7 separate regions of the Homo sapiens genome follow, and all the other regions are linked to region 1. The links are contacts of gene promoters, found by promoter capture Hi-C in blood cells and fetal thymus (Javierre and others, 2016). All regions are on one chromosome and are shown on one strand. Each heading gives the region's core, a stretch centred on a gene start or on the middle of the fragment in contact. The rest is flanking DNA. Distances are from core to core; before and after follow the strand shown. Region 1 holds the start of CREB3L4 (cAMP responsive element binding protein 3 like 4). Region 2 overlaps GATAD2B (GATA zinc finger domain containing 2B). Region 3 overlaps GATAD2B (GATA zinc finger domain containing 2B). Region 4 overlaps INTS3 (integrator complex subunit 3). Region 5 overlaps INTS3 (integrator complex subunit 3). Region 6 holds the start of CFAP141 (cilia and flagella associated protein 141). Region 7 overlaps TPM3 (tropomyosin 3).

What was found. The method cuts DNA at HindIII sites, captures the fragments that hold promoters and counts their contacts. A CHiCAGO score of 5 or more calls a contact.
Region 2: a contact is called between a fragment that was not itself captured here and the fragment with the promoter of CREB3L4 in region 1, in 17 of 17 cell types (total B cells, total CD8 T cells, naive B cells and 14 more). The highest score is 19.0, in total B cells.
Region 3: a contact is called between a fragment that was not itself captured here and the fragment with the promoter of CREB3L4 in region 1, in 12 of 17 cell types (total B cells, monocytes, naive CD8 T cells and 9 more). The highest score is 10.7, in total B cells.
Region 4: a contact is called between a fragment that was not itself captured here and the fragment with the promoter of CREB3L4 in region 1, in 13 of 17 cell types (total B cells, M0 macrophages, naive B cells and 10 more). The highest score is 11.1, in total B cells.
Region 5: a fragment that was not itself captured here is called in contact with the fragment with the promoter of CREB3L4 in region 1 in 5 of 17 cell types (total B cells, M2 macrophages, monocytes and 2 more); the score reaches 9.6 in total B cells.
Region 6: a contact is called between the fragment with the promoter of CFAP141 here and the fragment with the promoter of CREB3L4 in region 1, in 4 of 17 cell types (erythroblasts, M0 macrophages, megakaryocytes and 1 more). The highest score is 6.9, in erythroblasts.
Region 7: a contact is called between a fragment that was not itself captured here and the fragment with the promoter of CREB3L4 in region 1, in 6 of 17 cell types (M0 macrophages, erythroblasts, total B cells and 3 more). The highest score is 7.7, in M0 macrophages.

What each region holds. Positions count from the first base shown.
Region 1 is chr1:153,966,407-153,969,151 of GRCh38, reverse strand. It overlaps CREB3L4 (cAMP responsive element binding protein 3 like 4), which reads right to left and starts at 1,250. Exons shown (of 10, transcript NM_001255978.2): 1 at 988-1,250; 2 at 453-630; 3 at 1-222. The coding sequence starts at 626. It also overlaps a transcript of SLC39A1 not described here. RefSeq lists enhancers at 984-1,103, 1,134-1,243, 1,454-1,673, 1,108-1,964 and a silencer at 992-1,493. The HindIII fragment of the contact is 4,469 bases long and covers 189-2,745 here.
Region 2 is chr1:153,810,754-153,813,453 of GRCh38, reverse strand. It overlaps GATAD2B (GATA zinc finger domain containing 2B), which reads left to right. Exons shown (of 11, transcript NM_020699.4): 8 at 2-204; 9 at 1,322-1,432; 10 at 1,606-1,723. Among named protein-coding and RNA genes, the nearest start is that of SLC27A3, 37 kb to the right of the region's middle. The HindIII fragment of the contact is 1,796 bases long and covers 423-2,218 here.
Region 3 is chr1:153,834,188-153,836,887 of GRCh38, reverse strand. All of the region lies in intron 1 of GATAD2B (GATA zinc finger domain containing 2B), which reads left to right. Among named protein-coding and RNA genes, the nearest start is that of SLC27A3, 60 kb to the right of the region's middle. The HindIII fragment of the contact is 5,159 bases long and covers 1-2,700 here.
Region 4 is chr1:153,731,609-153,734,308 of GRCh38, reverse strand. All of the region lies in intron 1 of INTS3 (integrator complex subunit 3), which reads right to left. Among named protein-coding and RNA genes, the nearest start is that of INTS3, 4.9 kb to the right of the region's middle. RefSeq lists an enhancer at 63-562. The HindIII fragment of the contact is 3,671 bases long and covers 1-2,700 here.
Region 5 is chr1:153,757,928-153,760,644 of GRCh38, reverse strand. It overlaps INTS3 (integrator complex subunit 3), which reads right to left. Exons shown (of 30, transcript NM_023015.5): 11 at 1,032-1,119; 12 at 255-334. Among named protein-coding and RNA genes, the nearest start is that of SLC27A3, 16 kb to the left of the region's middle. The HindIII fragment of the contact is 8,511 bases long and covers 1-2,717 here.
Region 6 is chr1:154,204,877-154,207,593 of GRCh38, reverse strand. CFAP141 (cilia and flagella associated protein 141) reads left to right here and starts at 1,261. Exons shown (of 4, transcript NM_001010979.3): 1 at 1,261-1,319; 2 at 1,956-1,996. The coding sequence starts at 1,287. It overlaps LTAP1 (lipid transport auxiliary protein 1), which reads left to right. Exons shown (of 7, transcript NM_001098616.3): 7 at 1-874. The coding sequence ends at 141. The HindIII fragment of the contact is 7,725 bases long and covers 422-2,717 here.
Region 7 is chr1:154,178,153-154,180,852 of GRCh38, reverse strand. All of the region lies in intron 2 of TPM3 (tropomyosin 3), which reads left to right. Among named protein-coding and RNA genes, the nearest start is that of TPM3, 13 kb to the left of the region's middle. RefSeq lists an enhancer at 1-660. The HindIII fragment of the contact is 2,058 bases long and covers 380-2,437 here.

The sequences.
Region 1 (2,745 bases), core at 1-2,500:
ATTTGGCCCAGTTTCCCCCTGCATCCTCTCCAGGGCCCCTGCCTCATAGACAACCTCATAGAGCATAGGAGAACTGGTTGCCCTGGGGGCAGGGGGACTGTCTGGATGGCAGGGGTCCTCAGAGATGCCACTGTCACTGCCAGGAGATGCTTCTGAGCAGTACACCTCATTGGGATCAATGAAAAGCTTCAAGAAATCTTCAGGCTCACTCTCTTGAAGGCCCTACAGTAGGAAAAGGTTATATATATGTGCAGGGAAGAATTTTGGAAGTCCTCCCTGACTTATGCTTCATTTTCAGTCCTTTCACTTCTTGGGCATGGAGACAGTTATTATACAACTTACGTCTATTTTGGGGGTGGTCTGTTTTCAGACCTGTCTCCAAGTGGGAGCTGAAGCCTCTTATCACAGAGTTGTGTCTCAACCCCACCCCCACTCCCACTCGTCACACTCACACAGCCACGGTCCCCACCGGACTTCCAGCCTTGCAGTCCCTGTTCCTGTAGCCTAGTTACCGGAACCTCTGGAGGGGGGCAGTGGAGTCCCAGCTCCAGGACGGATCCTGTCGAGAAGATATCCTCTGGGGGCTCCAGCCACGCGTCCAGCAGGTCAGGGATTCCGAGATCCATGCTTCTGCAGGAAGGCGTGTGGGACGGAGGGTTGCAGAAACGGAATGATGGCTGCTTACTACCCCCTACAGTTTCTGGGCTCCTCTGCTCCCTTTTCCATTATCCCCGCCCCCCCACTCCTTCCTCACTAGCAAGCCCCCTCACCTGTCCCCTCGATATTTCACCTTCAGCCCTATCCCTCAGGTTTAGACAAAGAGGCCCCCCCCAAGCATTACCTGTTCTGAAGAGCCCAGCCCTGTCAAGCCAGCATAGCCCGTTGACCTCCCCAAACACTACACCTTTTCTTTCTTCCAGGATCTCGTATCCTGGACCTGCCAGCCAAACCCCGCCCCCAGCCTTACACTACAAAAGTGGATGCCACCTTGCCAGGAGCCACGGTAGGGCCGCTGTATCTGGGAGTAGGGGACTAAGAGTCTGAGGGTCCACAAACGGAATTTAAGAAGTAGGTAGCCGCGCCCTTTCTGCTGCAGTTTTCTCTTAGCTATAGTAAATCTTCCTGAGGGTTTGGTGTCTCCTAGCTGAAGAACAGAAAAGGCTGTGACTGGAGCACAGGACTCCTGAATGCCTGTTCTGTAGCCCTCGCTTTTGCAAGAGGGAGATCATGGCAGGGTTGTAAACAAAGGCGGAAAGAGTCAAGAGACCTGCGAATTTACTAGGGCATCCCCTCGCCCACCGCGTGGCGCTCTTCCCAAAGCTGAGTCCTGATTGGAAGCTGAAGACTTAGGTTTCGGAGGGGCAGGACATCGAGCCAATGGCACACTACCCTCTCAAGGCCGCCTCTTCCGTAACTGGTCGGAGACAGTTTGGCTGTTCAGGAGAGTCAGGCCAATGGGGCCGCAGTTCTTTCTTTTTTTTTTCTTTATTCTTATTTTTGGAGACAGGGTCTCGCTCTGTTGCCCAGGCTGGAGTGCGGTGGTGCGATCACGGTTCCATGCAGCCCCCGACCTCCCGGGCTCAGGTGATTCTCCCGCCTCAGCACCGCGAGCAGCTAGGACCACAGGCGCGAGCCACTGCGTCCGGCCGGCGGGACTTATTTGTCAGGCGGGGATTGGGTTCCGCCAGCCTAAAGGGAGGGGTAAGCGCCAGAATATGAATCGCCGGGAAGCTGGGAGAAAGCTCCGGGAAACCCTGAGCAGCCAGGTTTGTCTTCGCGCGCCACGTGACTCGGAAGCTCCGGTTTCACCCAGGCGGGGAGTCAACAGCCCGCTGACCCCAGTGGAGCGGTGATCCTCGCTCGGCAGGCGGCAGGAGCGCGATGGCGGGTTTCCCCGTCCGCAAGCCGAGCAGTGTGGCGTTAATGGAGAACAGCAGCTGTGCGCACACGCTCGCTGCACGCTGCTCATTCACGGAGGGACACGGGGCAGGAAAACTGCAACAAGTTAAAAAGCCTTTTGCGTTTGTTGTCTTATTGTTTGCATACAGTTACCGGGAACATTATGTCCCACACTTGTATAATTTACAAAACGTTTTCATAAAAATTGTTCTCTTCCTTAATCCATAACAGTTCTGAGGCACACACGGCGGGTAATATTTTGCAAATTTTACCTATGAGGAGGCAGATCCATGACTAGAAAGTAGTAATACCAAAACTCAGGGTTGATTGATTATTTTTATTTTTTTGCCTTGGTCTAATGTCTGATGGTCCAGGAATTCACTTCAAGTAAAACAATGGAGGTAAACTGATACAGGTATGGTTTTCAGTAGTATTTCAGAAAAGGGTAGCTGGGTGAGTAAAACAGTAGTTTGGAGTGTGAATCCCAGAACTCAAACTGCTACTAATTATCCTTATGAAGATTTGAACGGGCTAAGGGTAAAAACGGGAACAGGGTCTAGTCAGGCATTTCCATGTTACTCATATAATTCTTACAGCAGATGGAGCTGACAAGTTTGTTTGTTTGTTTTTCTTTTGCTCTGTGGCCCAGGCTGGAGTGCAGAGGCTCGATCTCGGCTCACTGCAAGCTCCGCCTCCCGGGTTCACGCCATTCTCCTGCCTCAGCCTCCCTAGTAGCTGGGACTACAGGCGCCCAGCTAATTTTTTTGTATTTTTAGTAGAGACAGGGTTTCACCGTGTTAGCCAGGGTGGTCTCGATCTGACCTCGTGATCCGTCCACCTCGGCCT
Region 2 (2,700 bases), core at 71-2,570, 160 kb after region 1:
GGCAAAAGCTGTGCCTCACTTCTGCGGGTTGAACCCTTTGTATGTGCCCAGTGCCGCACAGATTTCACCCCTCACTGGAAGCAAGAAAAGAATGGTAAGATTCTATGTGAGCAGTGTATGACCTCCAACCAGAAAAAGGCTCTAAAAGCTGAACACACCAACCGGCTGAAAAATGCATTTGTGAAAGCCCTACAGCAGGAACAGGTAAGAATTCTGACTGCTCACTGGCCACCTGTCCCAGTTTGTTTTTTCCAAAGGGTCGCGCCTTCTAGTTTGCAGGAGTGGTTCATGTGATCCCTACAGGTCCACAGGTTCCCTTTTTGTCTCCTTATCATTGTGTCCTATTTCCATTTGAGCGAGTATTCTGATTAAGAACATGGTAAAATATAATGGCTGAGGTTAACAGAAAGGGACAGAAAGCTTGGGACTCTTGGCTTTTCCATAGCACTCTATTCTCATCTTCATTTTTTCCTAAAACAAATAATAGATTTTGGTGGGAGGAATTTATATTTGTGCTATAAATCTCTTTGAAACAGTTATTTGCAGTGCGTGTTTGATAAGAAATGACGAAAGAAAGAGTGAATTATGAAGTAGCCCAGTGAAGAGTAGTGGTTCTAGAGTATGTGAACATCTCATGTAGCAGTTATAGGATGAGAATATCTTAGAGAAGGAAAAATGTGTTGGGAAACTCAGATCCTTTTCTTCCTATTTCCCACTCCACCCATCAGAGTCCCTTGTTTGAGTAGCATCATGGACTTTTTGGAAGATCGGGTAGGCAGGAGTCAAAAATAAAACCCCATTTATGCTCTAGGACTGGTGGTAAAAAATAAATAAATAAAAATTTTTAAAAAGAGAAAAGAAAAAGTGATAAAATAAAACCCCAGTAATTCATCAGCCTTAATTATATCAGTTGGTTCATCACCTCCAGCCAACTTCTTAGAGCCAGCTTTCCTGGAGAAAGAGAGGAGGATCCCTTGATCATTGAAGCAAGTTAGCTGCTTATACCCAGAAATCTCAGTGTACCACCCCCACCAAACTCTTTTGCCTTTTCCATATTCCACCAACTAGCCAACAACATTAGAGGTAAGAACACCTCCAGGTTTTCTGGTTAGGAAATTGGGTGGGCCAGGTGCAGTGATTCATGCCTGTAATCCCAGCACTTTGGGGAGGCTAAGGTGAGAGGATTGCTTGAGCCCAGGAGTGCCAGACCAGCCTGGGCAACAAAGTCAGATTGTGTCTCTGTTTAAAAAAAAAAAAAAAAAAGGAAATTGGGTATTGGGTGCTGTCCTGCTCAATCACCTGATGTGATGACTCCCAACAGGAAATTGAACAGCGATTACAGCAGCAGGCAGCCCTCTCCCCCACTACGGCTCCAGCTGTGTCCAGTGTCAGTAAACAAGAGACCATCATGAGACATCATACGCTTCGGCAGGTAAGGAACTTTTTGCCTGATCCTGATTTCTTTAGAAGATTTATCAGCCATTTATCACAATTTGTCCTTTCTATTGTGGGAAATCATAGTCTTCTTCTGTACTCCCTTATCTTTGCCCCCGCTTAACATTCTATCATATCAAAGTTGTATCCACTGTCTCCTCATCATTGCAGGCTCCACAGCCCCAGAGCAGCCTCCAGCGTGGCATACCCACATCTGCCCGCTCCATGCTTTCAAACTTTGCACAGGCACCCCAGTTGTCTGTGCCAGGTGGCCTCCTTGGTATGCCAGGTAAGAAGGATTAATCTGAAAATGTTTCTCATGGGTCAGCTGTTAGTTAGTATACAGTTCTGTAGCAGCCCCTTTAAGGGAATTGTTCCTTTACTTTCTGTTCTTTCTTTAGGGCATACACTCTCACTCTTCTGTTACTCAGCAAATGTTTGCTAAATTCATATTAAGTGCCACCCACAATGCACTAGGGTTTTGGTGGTGAAAATGACCCAGATCCTACCATTATCAATTTAACTTTTAATATCCCTTCAGTAGACATGTGGTTATTGATCTCTTTTGGCCGGGACAGCAGGGTTAACTGTTCTGTTTGAATGATCCAGGGATGCTTCTGCACAATCTGCAGCCTCAAAATCAAAGCTGATTTAATGATTCTATCTCTCTGTCTTATTCATCTTCCTCTCACCACTGTTTCACTTGTCTCTCCCATACCATCAGAAGCATGTTCATTATTCTTGGTAGGACCGAAATTTCAGGAAGTCCCCTTTTCCTAAAGCTTAGGAATATGAGTGGGGATTGAAATAAAGTTGCTGTGCAGGGCGCGGTGGCTCACACCTGTAATCCCAGCACTTTGAGAGGCCGAGGCAGGCGAATCACTTGAGATCAGGAGTTCAAGACCAGGCTGACCAACATGGTGAAACCCTGTCTCTACTAAAAATACAAAAAATTGGCTGGGCGTGGTGGCTCATGCCTATAATCCCAGCACTTTGGGAGGCCAAAGCGAGTGGATTACCTGAGGTCAGGAGTTCAAGACCACCCTGGCCAACATGATGAAACCCCATCTCTACTGAAAATACAAAAAATTAGCCCGGCGTGGTGGCTGGTGCCTGTAATCCCAGCTACTCGGGAGGCTGAGGCAGGAGAATCGCTTGAACTTGGGAGGTGGGGCTTGCAGTGAGCTGAGATTGTGCCACTGCACCTCCAGCCTGGGCAACGAGCGAAATTCTGTCTCAGATAAATAAGCAAACAAAATTAATTGG
Region 3 (2,700 bases), core at 120-2,619, 130 kb after region 1:
AAGGGGAAATTATTTGACTTACTTTCAGCTGTTTGTATAATTGTCAATTCAAGGAGCCAAGGTAATGATGGCACCCCAAACTCTAGCTCTAGGTTATTGAATTTTGTTGTTTTGTCATATACTATCAGTGCACGTGAATATATCTCAAAACTTAGAATACTGTAGTATATCAACTTAAATGTGTATATCTTGCTATGTGTACTTAAGAGACAGGGTCTTGCTCTGTCACCCAGGCTGGAGTAGAGTGGCGCAATCATAGCTCACTGCAGCCTCAAACTCCTGGGCTCAAATGATCTTCCCACTTCAGTCACCATGCCTTTTTTTTTTAACTTTTTTAGGCTGGGTGCAGTGGCTCACGCCTGTAATCCCAGCACTTTGGGAGGCCAAGGTGGGCGGATCACTTGAGGTCAGGAGTTCAAGACTAGCCTGGCCAACATGGAGAAACCTCGTCTCTACTAAAAATACAAAAATTAGCCGAGTATGGTGGCGAACACCTGTAATCTCAGCTACTTGGAAGGCTGAGGCATGAGAATCACTTGAACCTGGGAGGCTTGCAGTGAGCCGAGGCTGTGCCACTGCACTCCAGCCTGGGTGACAGACTGTCTAAAAAAAAAAAAAAAAAAACAAATTTTTTTTTAGAGATGAGTCTCCCAGGATGGTCTCAAACTCTCAGCCTCCAATGATCCTCTTGTGTCACTGGGATTACACACACAAGCCACTGCCTTACTGTGTACTTTTCTAAAGTATAGACATACCTCAGAGATTTTGTATGTTCCATTCCAGACCACCACAATAAAGCAAATATTGCAATAAAGCAAGTCACACAAATTTTTTGGTTTCCCAGTGTATATAAAAGTTATGTTTAGGCCAGACGCAGTGGCTCACGCCTGTAATCCAAGCACTCTGGAAGGCTGAGGCGGGAGGATTGCTTGAAGTCAGGAGTTTGAGACCAGCCTGGTCAACATGGTGAAACCTTGTCTCTACTAAAAATACAAAAAGTAGCTGGGCATGGTGGTACGCGCCTGTAATCCCAGCTACTCAGGAGGCTGAGGCAGTAGAATCGCTTGAACTCAGGAGGCAGAGGTTGTAATGAACCGAGATCACGCCACTCCACTCCAGCCTGGACGACAGAGCAAGAGTCTGTCTCAAAAAAATAATAATAATAATAAAATAAAAGTTATGTTTACATTATGCTGTAGTCTATTAAGTGCAATAGGATTATGTCTAAGAAAACAATGAATACATCTTAAATAAAAAACACTTTCTTGCTAAAAAGTACTAACAATCATCTGAGCCTTCAGCAAGTCATTATCTTTTAGCTGGTAGAGTGTCTTGCCTCCATGTGGATGACTGCTCACCCATTAGTGTGGTGGTTGCTGAAGGTTGGGGTAACCTGGCAATTTTTTTTTTTTTTTGAGATTACAGGCATGAGCCACTGCGCCTGCCCAACCTGGCAGTTTCTTAAAATAAGATGATGAAGTTTGCCACATGGATTGACTCTCCTTTCATGAAAGATTTTCATATAGCATGCGGTACTGTTTAATACCATTTTATCCACAGTAGAACTGCTTTCAACATTGGTGTCATTTCTTTCAAACCCTGCTGCTTTGTCAACTCAAGTTTATGGAATATTCTAAATCTTCTGGTGTCATTTCAACAGTGTTCACAGCATCTTACCAGGAGTAGATTCCATCTCAAGAAACCACTTTCTTTGCTCATCCATAAGAAGCAACTCCTTATCCATTCAAATTTTTGTTTTTTGTTTGTTTTTTAAAGAGACTCAGTTGTGGTCTGTCACCCAAGCTGGAGTGCAGTGGCATGATCGTAGCTCATTGTAGCCTCAAACTCCTGGGCTCATGCGATCCCCTCACCTCACTCTCCTGAGTGAGGTGCATGCCACCGTGCCCAACTAATTTTTTTTTTTATTTTCTGTAGAGATAGGGTCTCACTTTGTTGTCCAGGTTGGTCTCGAACTCCTGGGCTCAAGTGATCCTCCTGTCTCAGCCTCCCAAAGTGCTGGGATTACAGTGCTGGGATCCCAGCTGTGCCTTGCCCAGGCTCCCTTCTAATTGTAGTTTTCTTGCTGTTTCTACCACTTTTGCAGTCATTTCCTCCATTGAAACCTTGAACCTGTCAAAGGTCATGTATGAAAGTTATAATCAACTTCTTTCAAATTCCTGTTAGTGTTGATAGTTTTAGGCCGGGCGTGGTGGCTCATGCCTGTAATCCCAGCAATTTGGGAAGCCGAGGCAGGCAGATCACCTGAGGTCGGGAGTGCGAGACCAGCCTGACCAACATGGAGAAACCCTTTCTCTACTAAAAATACAAAATTAGCTGGGCCTGGGGTGGCACATGCCTGTAATCCCAGCTACTCGGGAGACTGAGGCAGGAGAATTGCTTGAACCTGGAAGGTGGAGGTGAGCTGAGATCGCACCATTGCACTCCAGCCTGGGCAACAAGAGCAAAACTCCGTCTTAAAAAAAAGAAAAAGAAAAGAAAAATGTTAATAGTTTTACTTCCTCCTGCAATGGTAAATAATTTCCAGGAGGTTTTTTAAATTTTTATTTTTATAGAGACAGGGTCTTGGCTGGGCGTGGTGGTCATGCCTGTAATCCCAGCACTTTGGGAGGCTGAGGTGGGCGGATCACGAGGTCAGGAGTTCGAGACCATCCTGGCTGACACGGTGAAACCCCATCTCTA
Region 4 (2,700 bases), core at 90-2,589, 230 kb after region 1:
CAAAGAAAGCCACAGGAAGCCAGATCCCTACAATCAAGTAATAGCAACGCTTTTCCCCTAGTCTCCAGAGTCTCTTAGTAAAGATAGAATCATAGGTTCAGATGCCAACAACTGCTGGCAGAATGGCTCTGTTCAGAGTAAGCCCTCCATGACAGTACCTTAGAGAGCTGAGTAAATATTTACAATCTCTAGGAGCTCCTGAACTAATTTTTCTAATACTAAGACTACCTGACCATGGTTTCCATGAGAGCAGCAGCAGATGAAATGGGGGAGAAAGGGGGGGAAGGCCTTTCTCTTTCCCAGTATATACCCAAAGCTGGAGACTCAAGCTGGAGGAACCCCTCTAACCTTTCCATTTCCCCTCCCTCAGCCAGGTGGATATAGAGTCTGGTAAAAAGCATACAGTGGCTGGGTGTGGTGGCTCACGCCTGTAGTCCCAACACTCTGGGAGGCTGAGGGGGGCGAATCACGAGGTTAGGAGATCGAGAGCAGCCTGGCCAACATGGTGAAACCCCATCTCTACTAAAAATACAAGAATCAGCCGGGTGTGGTGGCGCACACTTGTAGTCCCAGCTACTCGGGAGGCTGAGGCAGGAGAATCGCTTGAACCCGGGAGGCGAAGGTTGCAGGGAGCTGTCGCGCCACTGCACTCCAGCCTGGGTGACGGAGCGAGAATCCATCTCCCCACAAAAAAAAGCATACAGTAAATACTGCTCCCTATGGGAAGTGGCCTTAAACACCAAATTCCCCATCTTCAGAAAAGGAAGATACAATCTAACTCATAAAATCCCCAAGGACAGCTGGGTGCGGTGGCTCACGCCTGTAATCCCAGCACTTTGGGAAGCTGAGGCAGGAAGATCACGAGGTCACGACTTCGAGAGCAGCCTGGACAACATGGTGAAACCCCATCTCTACTAAAAATACAAAAATTAGCTGGGCGTGGTGGTGCACACCTGCAGTCCCAGCTACTTGGGAGGCTGAGGCAGGAGAATCGCTTGAACCCAGGGGGCGGAGGTTGCAGTGAGCCGAGATCGCACCACTACACTCCAGCCTGGGAGACAGAGCAAGACTGCATCTGCAAAAAAAAAAAAAAAAAAAAAAAAAAAAAAAAGCATTCGGTAAATACTGCTCCCTATGGGAAGTCAGTGGCCTTAAAAGACTAAATTCTGGCCCGGCACGGTGGCTCATTCCTGTAATCCCAGCACTTTAGGAGGCCGAGGTAGGTGGATCATGAGGTCAGGAGTTCGAGACCAGCCTAACATGGTGTACGAGGTCAGGAGTTCAAGACCAGCCTGACCAACATGGTGAAACCCTGTCTCTACTAAAAATACAAAAAAATTAGCCGGGCATGGTGGTGCGTGCCTTTACTCCTAGCTACTCAGGAGGCTGAGGCAGGAAAATCGCTTGAATCTGGGAAGTGCAGGTTGCAGTGAGCCGAGATGATGCCACTGCACTCCAGTCTGGGCAACACAGTGAGACTCCATCTCAAAAAAAAAAAAAGACTAAATTCCTCATTTTCAGAAAAGGAATATACAATCTAACTCATAAAATCCCCAAGGATGGCCAGGCACAGTGACTCACGCCTGTAATCCCAGCACTTTCGGAGGCCGAGGCAGGTGGATCACCTGAGTTCAGGAATTTGAGACCAGCCTAGCCAATGTGGTGAAACCCCGTCTCTACTAAAAATGCAAAAAAAGTAGCTGGGTGTGGTGGTGGGCTTCCGTAATCCCAGCTACTTGGGAGGCTGACGCAGGAGAATCGCTTGAACACAGGAGGCAGAGGTTTCAGTTAGCTGAGATCACGCCATTGCACTACAGCCTGGGTAACAAGAGGGAAACTCCGTTTAAAAAAAAAAAAAAAATCCCCAAGGACTCACGTAGGTGAGGAGTTATTGAACAAGCTGCGTTCAAAGTATTCCACAACCATGAGTCACTGGTATATGAAATTATGATTTGTAAGGGGACAAAAACTAGAAGTGACTCAAAGCCCAGTCCCTGGAGACTCCTCACATATGTATATGAATTATTCCTTGGGGAAAACCAGGTAGAGACATACCTCTAACCAAATGCAACCCTGAGACCTATCCAGCGCTTAAGAGGAAGCTCTGGCCAGGCTCGGTGGCTCATGCCTGTAATCCCAGCAATTTGGAAGGCCAAGGCAGGTGGATCACCTGAGGTCAGGAGTTCGAGACCAGCCTGGCCAACATGGTGAAACCCATCTCTACTAAAAATACAAAAATTAGCCAGGAGTGGTAGTGCCTGTAATCCCAGCTACTCTGGAGGCTGAGGCAGGAGAATCGCTTGAACCCGGGAGGCAGAGGTTGCAGTGAGCCAAGATCGCGCCACTGCACTCCAGCCTGGGCGACAGAGGGAGACTCTGTCTCAAAAAAAAAAAAAAAAAAAAAAAAGTTAAAAAAAGACGCGGGGCCAGGTGCGGTGGCTCAAGTCTGTAATCCCAGCACTTTGGGAGGCCGAGGTGGGCGGATCATGAGGTCAGGAGATAGAGACCATCCTGGCTAACATGGTGAAACCCTGTCTCTACTAAAAATGCAAAAAATTAGCCGGGCGTGGTGGCAGGCGCCTGTAGTCTCAGCTACTCGGGAGGCTGAGGCAGGAGAATGGTGTGAACCCGGGAGGCAGAGCTTGCAGTGAGCCAAGATCCCACCACTGCACCACTCCAGCCTGGGCGACAGAGTGAGAC
Region 5 (2,717 bases), core at 162-2,661, 210 kb after region 1:
GCTCCCCAAGGAAACCAGATTCTACCTTGAGTCACCATCCTTGTGATTGAGAAACCCCACAGAAAATGGGAAGATCCAAGTGCAGACAGTGGAATATGGAAGGGAAGCATTTATTAACTTGGGGGATAGGACCCATGACCATTTCTGCTCTCAGTCAAGGCATACCGAGAAGACCCGTTCACTGGGAGATTAGGGGAGATACACTGAATTCTGCTCATCCAGGCATGGGGAGAAAAGAGAGCTCTAACACTTACGCGGCACATGAAGTCCAGGAGTGTGGCAGTGATGGCTGGGTGGGGCTTCATGGAGTGGTGCATGACCAGGATGGCTGGTTCTGGAGGATGTGAAATTAAAGAGCCCCTCACATCAGTCAGTCTCTCTCTCTCTTTTTTTTTTTTTTTTTTTTTTTTTTGAAACAGAGTCTTGCTCTGTCACCCAGGCTGGAGTGCAAATGGTACGATCTCAGCTCACTGAAGCCTCTGCCTCCCAGGTTCAAGCGAATCTCATGCCTCAACCTCCCCAGCAGCTGGAATTACAGGTGTGCGCCACCACGCCAGGCTAAAGTCAGTCTGTTTCTATCTCCATAAAATGGGATGTCAATATACATGAATGGCTCTGGGAAGTGCTATGTCTATTCCCCCCATTTCCACTGAGCAGACCCAAGAGCAGACAGGCCCCGAAACAGCTTGTAGCCCTCATTTCCCTTCTTGTTCCCAGCATTCAGCTTTGAGAAGGGAAGTAATAGGTGAGGAGAAGCAGGACATGGTACAGCCTTTTCCTTTGCCCATGCCCTCCCCTCCTGAAGACCATGCATCCTGAAGACTGTGGGGAGGAGGTACAGTGATGGCTTAGCCTTATCAAAGCAATTCTCTTTCTAGGTCAAGGGAAAACTGATGAGGAACAACAGAGCTGCTCCCAGATAAACTGCCTCCACTCCACGGTGCCCTGAGATTTATGACTGCTATCACTAAGGAAGGCAGTGGGGGCTTAGGGGGATGGGGAAGTGGAGCCGCCTGGTCTTGGTCACATACCTATGTTCATAATGCTATCCTTGTCTGGACTAAAGAACAGCCAGTCATAAAACAAAGCCAGCTTGGCATTGGAGGCAGCGACATTTGACTGGAAAAGAGAGGGGAGAAACAGAGGGCTAGTTTCATCAATCACCCCCCTCCATTTCAGAGTCCCAAGACAGATTCCAGGCCCCACTTGGCTGTTTCATCTATGAAATTCAGTTCCTAGTGAAACACGGTGAAATGCTAACCCCCCTTGTGTTGTGTATGAGTGAATACTCTGTGGTCTTATGGTCTTAACCAAGAGGACAGAGGACAGGGATTGGGCCAGGTACCCCCCGAACCTTTTTTTTTTTTTTTCCAGACAGGGTCTTGCTCTGTTGCCCAGGCTGTAGTGCAGTGGCATGATCTCAGCTCACTGCAACCTCCACCGCCCAGGCTCGAGAGAGCCTCTCACCTCAGCCTGGGACTACAGGCACGCACCACCTCACCTGGCTCATTTTTCTATTTTTTTGTAGAGATGAGGGTCTTGCCATGTCACCCAGGCTGGAGCGCAGTGGCATGATCACGGCTTACTCCAGCCTTGACCTCTTAGGCTCGGGTGATCCTCCCAGCCTCAGCCTCCTTGGTAGCTGGGACTACAGGAGCACACCACCATGCGTGGCTTTATGTTTTGTTTTGTTTTGTTTTGGTAGAGATGGGTTTTGCCATGTTGCCCAGGCTGGTCTTGAACTCCTGGGCTCAAGTGATCCTCCCACCTCAGCCTCCCAAAGTATTGGGATTATAGGTGAGAGCCACCATGCCTGGCCAGGCCTGGGTTCTTTTCTTTTTGTTGTTGAGACAGGGTCTGACTCTGTCACCCAGGCTGGAGTGCAGTGGCAGGATCTCAGCTCACTGCAACCTCTACCTCCCAGGCTCAAGCGGTCCTCTCACCTCAGCCTGGGACTACAGCCGCACACCAACACACTTGGCTAATTTTTGTATTTTTTTGTAGAGATGGGGTCTTGCCATGTTGCCCAGGCTGGTCTCAAACTCCTGAGCTCAAGCAATCTGCCCACCTCAACCTCCCAAAGTGCTGGGATTACAGGCGTGAGCCACCGTGCTCGGCAGGCCTGGGTTCTTGATACATCCAGCAGTTCATATCTCTGATTCCCATAGGGGACAATGCTTGGACTCAGAAGTCCACTCATCACCCCTGAGCTGAGGCAACAGTCAGACTAGCACCCCTTGGCTGCCCTTTCTGGGCTCTCCAGGCACATTCCTGAAGAAGAGACCCCCACCCCTCCAGGAATAGCCTGTTGTCATATCTGAATCAGCACATTCCAAGGACCCAGTCAAATGGGGGAGGAGGAACCCTGTTGGAAGAGGTCAGGGGGCAGCCAGATGCCAGAGAATGGATAGTTTCCCACCCTAGGCACAGAGAGGAAAACATTTGAAAGGAAATGCCTCCACTGCAGATTCGCTGCATTTACAGAAGGGAAGTAGACAAAGCTGATGCCAAAAAGGCATGGTGGTGAGGGTCTAAAGAATGCAAGCTCTGAATCTGAGAAAGAAACAGTTAAGAGGAATAGCTGTATATGGTTTCTGGAAGCAAAAATGAAAAAGGCAGGGACGCTCCAGAAACCCAGGCTTTTGGGGGTTGGCAGTAATGGGGGAGATGAACCTGTTCAATCTCAAACCCAGATGGAAAATAATGAGTGTAAGTAA
Region 6 (2,717 bases), core at 12-2,511, 240 kb before region 1:
CTAACTCAGTCCCCTGAGGTCTCCCCAACAACCATCCAGGTGACATACCTCCCCTCCAGTCAGAAGAGTAAACGTGCCAAGCACTTCCTTGAATTGAAGAGCTTTAAGGATAACTATAACACATTGGAGAGTACTCTGTGACGGAGCTGAAGGACTCTTGCCGTAGATTAAGCCAGTCAGTTGCAATGTGCAAGACAGGCTGCTTGCCGGGCCGCCCTCGGAACATCTGGCCCAGCAGGCCCAGACTGTATCCATCCAAGTTCCCGTTGTATCCAGAGTTCTTAGAGCTTGTGTCTAAAGGGTAATTCCCCAACCCTTCCTTATGAGCATTTTTAGAACATTGGCTAAGACTATTTTCCCCCAGTAGCGCTTTTTTCTGGATTTGCATTCAGGTGTTATTCTTAATGTTTCTGTCAAAGCTTCTTAAAAATCTTCACTTGGTTTCAGCCATAGTTCACCTTCCCTGTTCCAGGTTTATTTAATTCCAAAGGTGAGAGTTGGAGTGAGATGTCTTCCATATCTATACCTTTGTGCACAGTTGAATGGGAACTGTTTGGGTTTAGGGCATCTTAGAGTTGATTGATGGAAAAAGCAGACAGGAACTGGTGGGAGGTCAAGTGGGGAAGTTGGTGAATGTGGAATAACTTACCTTTGTGCTCCACTTAAACCAGATGTGTTGCAGCTTTCCTGACATGCAAGGATCTACTTTAATTCCACACTCTCATTAATAAATTGAATAAAAGGGAATGTTTTGGCACCTGATATAATCTGCCAGGCTATGTGACAGTAGGAAGGAATGGTTTCCCCTAACAAGCCCAATGCACTGGTCTGACTTTATAAATTATTTAATAAAATGAACTATTATCAAATAAAACGTATGAATCAGTCCTTTATAGTTGTCTTTTAATAAAACAGGCATTTGATAATGTTATCTGCACATTTCTAACAGGGTATAGGGCATGAGGATTTGCCTCCAGAGAATTGGTGGGACTGTGTGCATACCCTGGACCTACGACCATACACATACTCCTTGGGACCCTAGCACAAGAAATCCTAAAATCAGGACTGTGGCCCTTGCTCATAGATGCCTGTGTCACCAACAGAAGGCTGCAGAACAAGGATTCTCTCAAGGTTTCTGGGGCAACAGGCCAGGTGGCCAATCAACTCCTAGGCCCAGGGTTATTGTTGGAGGTGTAAATGTTACTATGACTACTGAAACCTTGGTTACTGAACTAAACAGAGGAGCCTGTCAGTCTCCTCAGACTGTATCAAGCAAATCTATAGACATGTCTGTGGAAAAGATGACAAAAGTAGAAGAGGTATGCAGAGTTGGAAGGAGGGGCTGGGTTGAAGTTTGATGAAGTTTCCAGATCAATTTACTATAAGTGCATCTTTTACTGGGAAAGGCTTTTGATGTAACAAGGGTATAATGTAGTTAGTAACAGGAGTGGGAGGCTGTGTCTAGTACACAGTAGGTATTCAAATATGTGTTCTATCCAACCCCTGCGTGTTTTCTTTGATCCATTCTGAAAGTAGAGCTTTCCTCTCCCTATTTCCCCCCAGGAAATTGCTTTCTCAAAAAGGTCTATGTGGCTGGGTGCGGTGACTCACGCCTGTAATCCTATCACTTTGGGAGGCTGAGGTGGGCGGATCACCTGAGGTCAGGAGTTCGAGACTAGCCTGACCAACATGGAGAAACCCCATCTCTACTAAAAATACAAAATTAGCCCGGCATGGTGGTGCATTCCTATAATCTCAGCTACTCGGAGGCTGAGGCAGGAGAATCGCTTGAACCCGGGAGGCGGAGATTGCGGTGAGCCGAGATCACGCCACTGCACTCTGGCCTGGGCAACAAGAGCAAAACTCTGTCTCAAAAAAAAAAAAGGTCTATGTCTCTCATTAGAATAGAGGTTCTGGAGACTGAGGCAGATCAACAGAACTACCTTTTCTTGCAGAGTTTTCAAAAGGCCATGGGACTTAAGAAGACGGTCGACAGGTAATCTGCTTCTATCCCCTCCCTTTACCTTTGAGCTTGACCTTTCCACTCTGCTGTCTTCCCTGAGCCACCTCCCAACTCTGCTGCATCTCTTTAGGGGCTCATCAAGAGGAAAACAGATGCGGAAGGGGTGAGAAGCAGCCTTGTCCTCAAAGCAAATGAGATCAGCCTCTTAGTGCCTACTAGGTTAGGTGATATAGATTGGTTTTTATTGTCCCCTGCCTCATTCTCTGGAGAAAAATTGAAGCATGTTTTTATTTTCTTTTTTTATCAAGAATTCAAGTATTTGTTGCCTGGCTTTGTACTAATTATGTGGTTGGTAGTGCAGTATTTGTTGAACCAGTGAATGAGAAGATTCACAAGACTGGGCTACGTATCCTTTTCACCCTGATGAACTTTTGAAAAAACTGATGCAGCCGGGCGCGGTGGCTCACGCCTGTAATCCTAGCACTTTGGGAGGCTGAGGCAGGAGGATTGCCTGAGCTCAGGAGTTCAAGACCAGCCTAGGCAACATGGTGAAACCCTGTCTCTACTAAAATACAAAAGAAGTTAGCCAGGCATGGTAGTGTGCGCCTGTAGTCCCAGCTACTCGGGAGGCTGAGGCAGGAGAATTGCTTGAACTTAGGATGCGGAGGGTGCAGTGAGCCAAGATCGCACCACTGCACTCCAGCACTCCAGCCTGGGTGACAGAGCAAGACTCCGTCTCTACAAAAAAAAAAAA
Region 7 (2,700 bases), core at 159-2,658, 210 kb before region 1:
CCCAGGCTCAAGTGATTCTCCTGCCTTAGCCTCCTGAGTGGCTGGGATTACAGGCATCCACCACCACACTCGGCGATTTTTTTTTATTATTTTATTTTTTTATTTTTAGTAGAGATGGGGTTTCACCATGTTGGCCAGGCTGGTTTCAAACTCCTGACCTCAAGTGATCTGCCTGCCTCAGCCTCCCAAAGTGCTGAGATTACAGGCATGAGCCACTGCGCCTGTCCTGGGGTGATGTTTCTTAAGCTACTTTCACTCAGAGCCTGCCAAATTTGCTTATTGAGCTGAGGTCTAGTGAGGAAGTCCTCAGAATGGGGAAGTAGAGTTATAGTTAAATATTGATGAAATCATTTCTTCTACTCCCCAGCCTGAAGAAGCTTAATCTTTTGACTTTCTGCTGCTCTGCTGAACTTTGAACCCCTACTGAGGAGGAGACACCTGTGGGAAGGGAGGGGGGTTGCTTGGGCTACCTGTTATCCTCTTAAGGCATTCTGGAATGTGGGTTTTGCAGACTCCTCCCTCCTCTGGAGCGGGAAACTGCACTCTCTGATGGTATCTCATGCTGTTAGTGGGATTGTCACTTAATTATTTTCCTGGTTACTTTGTGTGAACATCCAAGCCACCCTTGTTGGGAAGCTAGATGAGTCTAAAACTGAGACACTGGTGTTCTAGGATCCATCTTTCTTTTCTGCTCTCGGCCTGGAAATTGGTCTTTTATAATGTAGCACCTTGTCAAATTTACTTTCAGTTCTGTATTTCCTTTTTACTTCTGTCTAAATGGAAACAGATGGCAACATAATGTTTAAATGCAGTCTTTTTCCTTATCTCTTTTTTTTTGTGGTAGTGGTGATAAAAATACATGTAAAATTTACCATTTTAACCATTTATAAATGTACAGTTCACCTTATCTGTTTTTAATAACTCTCTCCTAATTGTCCCTGATATTTTTCTCTTTTTAATTTTTTTCTAGTCTAAAAAACTTAAGAGGCTGGGTGCGGTGGCTCACACCTGTAATCCCAGCCCTTTGGGAGGCCTAGGCGGGTGGATCTGAGGTCCACCTGTGGATCTGATGAAACCCCATCTCTACTAAAAATACAAAAAATTAGCTGGGCATGGTGGCGCATGCCTGTAATCCCAGCTACTTGGGAGGCTGAGGCACAAGAATTGCTTCAACCCTGGAGGCGGAGGTGGCAGTGAACCAGGATTGGATCATGCCACTGTACTCCAGCCTGGGCGAGTATCGGCACTGGGGGAGTGAGGGGTCAACTGCGGGAGTGTAAGGTCAGCACACTACCTCTGCCTCAAAAAGAAAAAAAAAAGTAATAACAAAAACCTTAAGAGTACTACCGAGGGAGTGGGCTTTGATTCTGGCCTTAATCCTAAATTCCTAGTCTCTGGAGAGGTTAGAATGCTTGACTGTTGTGTGGTTCTCTTCTATTCGTGGGCCTGGTGGACTAAGCAACCTTTCTTTGGTTGCTTTGCTTTCCTTTCTCTTTCCCCAGTACTAGAACACACACTCACAGGGGAGAGGCAGATAGCCCTTTACCCCTGCTTAGGCTCCGCCTTTGTTTACTGTGGGGCAGATAGCTCTACTCCCTTCCAACTTGCCTCCCCTTTGGTGAAGTTTAAATTCCCCAAGGACACGGTATCTCCCTGGGTAATGCATTTGTGAGCACAGTGAACTCAAATAGTCCTTTACTCACAGGGCTCAAGCCTAACTTTCTGATACTCTTTCATTTGAATTTTATCTGTGGCTTTTATCTAATAAGAGAAACCCCAGTGTGGCAGAAAGCCAGATTTAGGCTAATCCCCTTCTGTCCTTGGCCCTGTTCTGCCTGAGAGTACCATCACACTGTCAGTTTCTTGCCTGGAGGGGTTGACATATTTGGGAAATCTCTTTGGAGTGGAGGATAGCCGAAGGTGTTGTCAGCCATCTGGTAATGTGACTGAGTTGCTGGGGCATTCTACTCTTTCCCCAATCCCTCACCCAGGATCTTTGCTTCCTGGGCAGTGGAGAATCCTATTATTACTTGAAGGGAAGAACCACAGAGTACTGTATATCCTCCACACTGGGCAGAGATAGGTCAGCTGAAACACCAAAACCGCATCTGGATGGGCATGCTAAAACCTAAGATGATTAGGAAAGTGCAGAGCTTAACGTTTCCCAGGGCCACAGGTAGCCTGGTCTGCAAAAAGTAGGCCTGTTCAATCTCTTGGTACCCATTGGTATTATTTGACCTGAAAGGGACAGGCACTGTGCATAGACTCATGAGGGAAAAGTCAGCTTGTCTTCCTTGTTCCTTTAAACAAAGTATCAGATCTTGATTCTGCAGGCTTTTGTTTCATTGTAAAGAGAACTGATCCTCTGTGCTAGGAGAAAAGAGAAAGGCAAGGTCCCATTCCCTACCACTCCACCCTGGAGGGGGTCTCTGAAGCTTTTTCTAGGACTCCCATCTCAGGTTCTGCTTTTGATACAGGCTTGTTCATGTGTGCATGCTCTTAGGAGGGCACCAAGATGTGTTTTCCCCCTCTCCCTTTTCAGCCTTGCTAAGAATTCTATTGTAAATGCTGATTTGTGGGAGAAACTGCCTGAGCCAGCTTGCTGTCATGGCAACTGTACACCCCCGCCCCATAGCCTGTTATCTTCTACTCCAGTTTGGGTAACTACTGGTGAGCTGCATGATGTCTTACATTTCATGA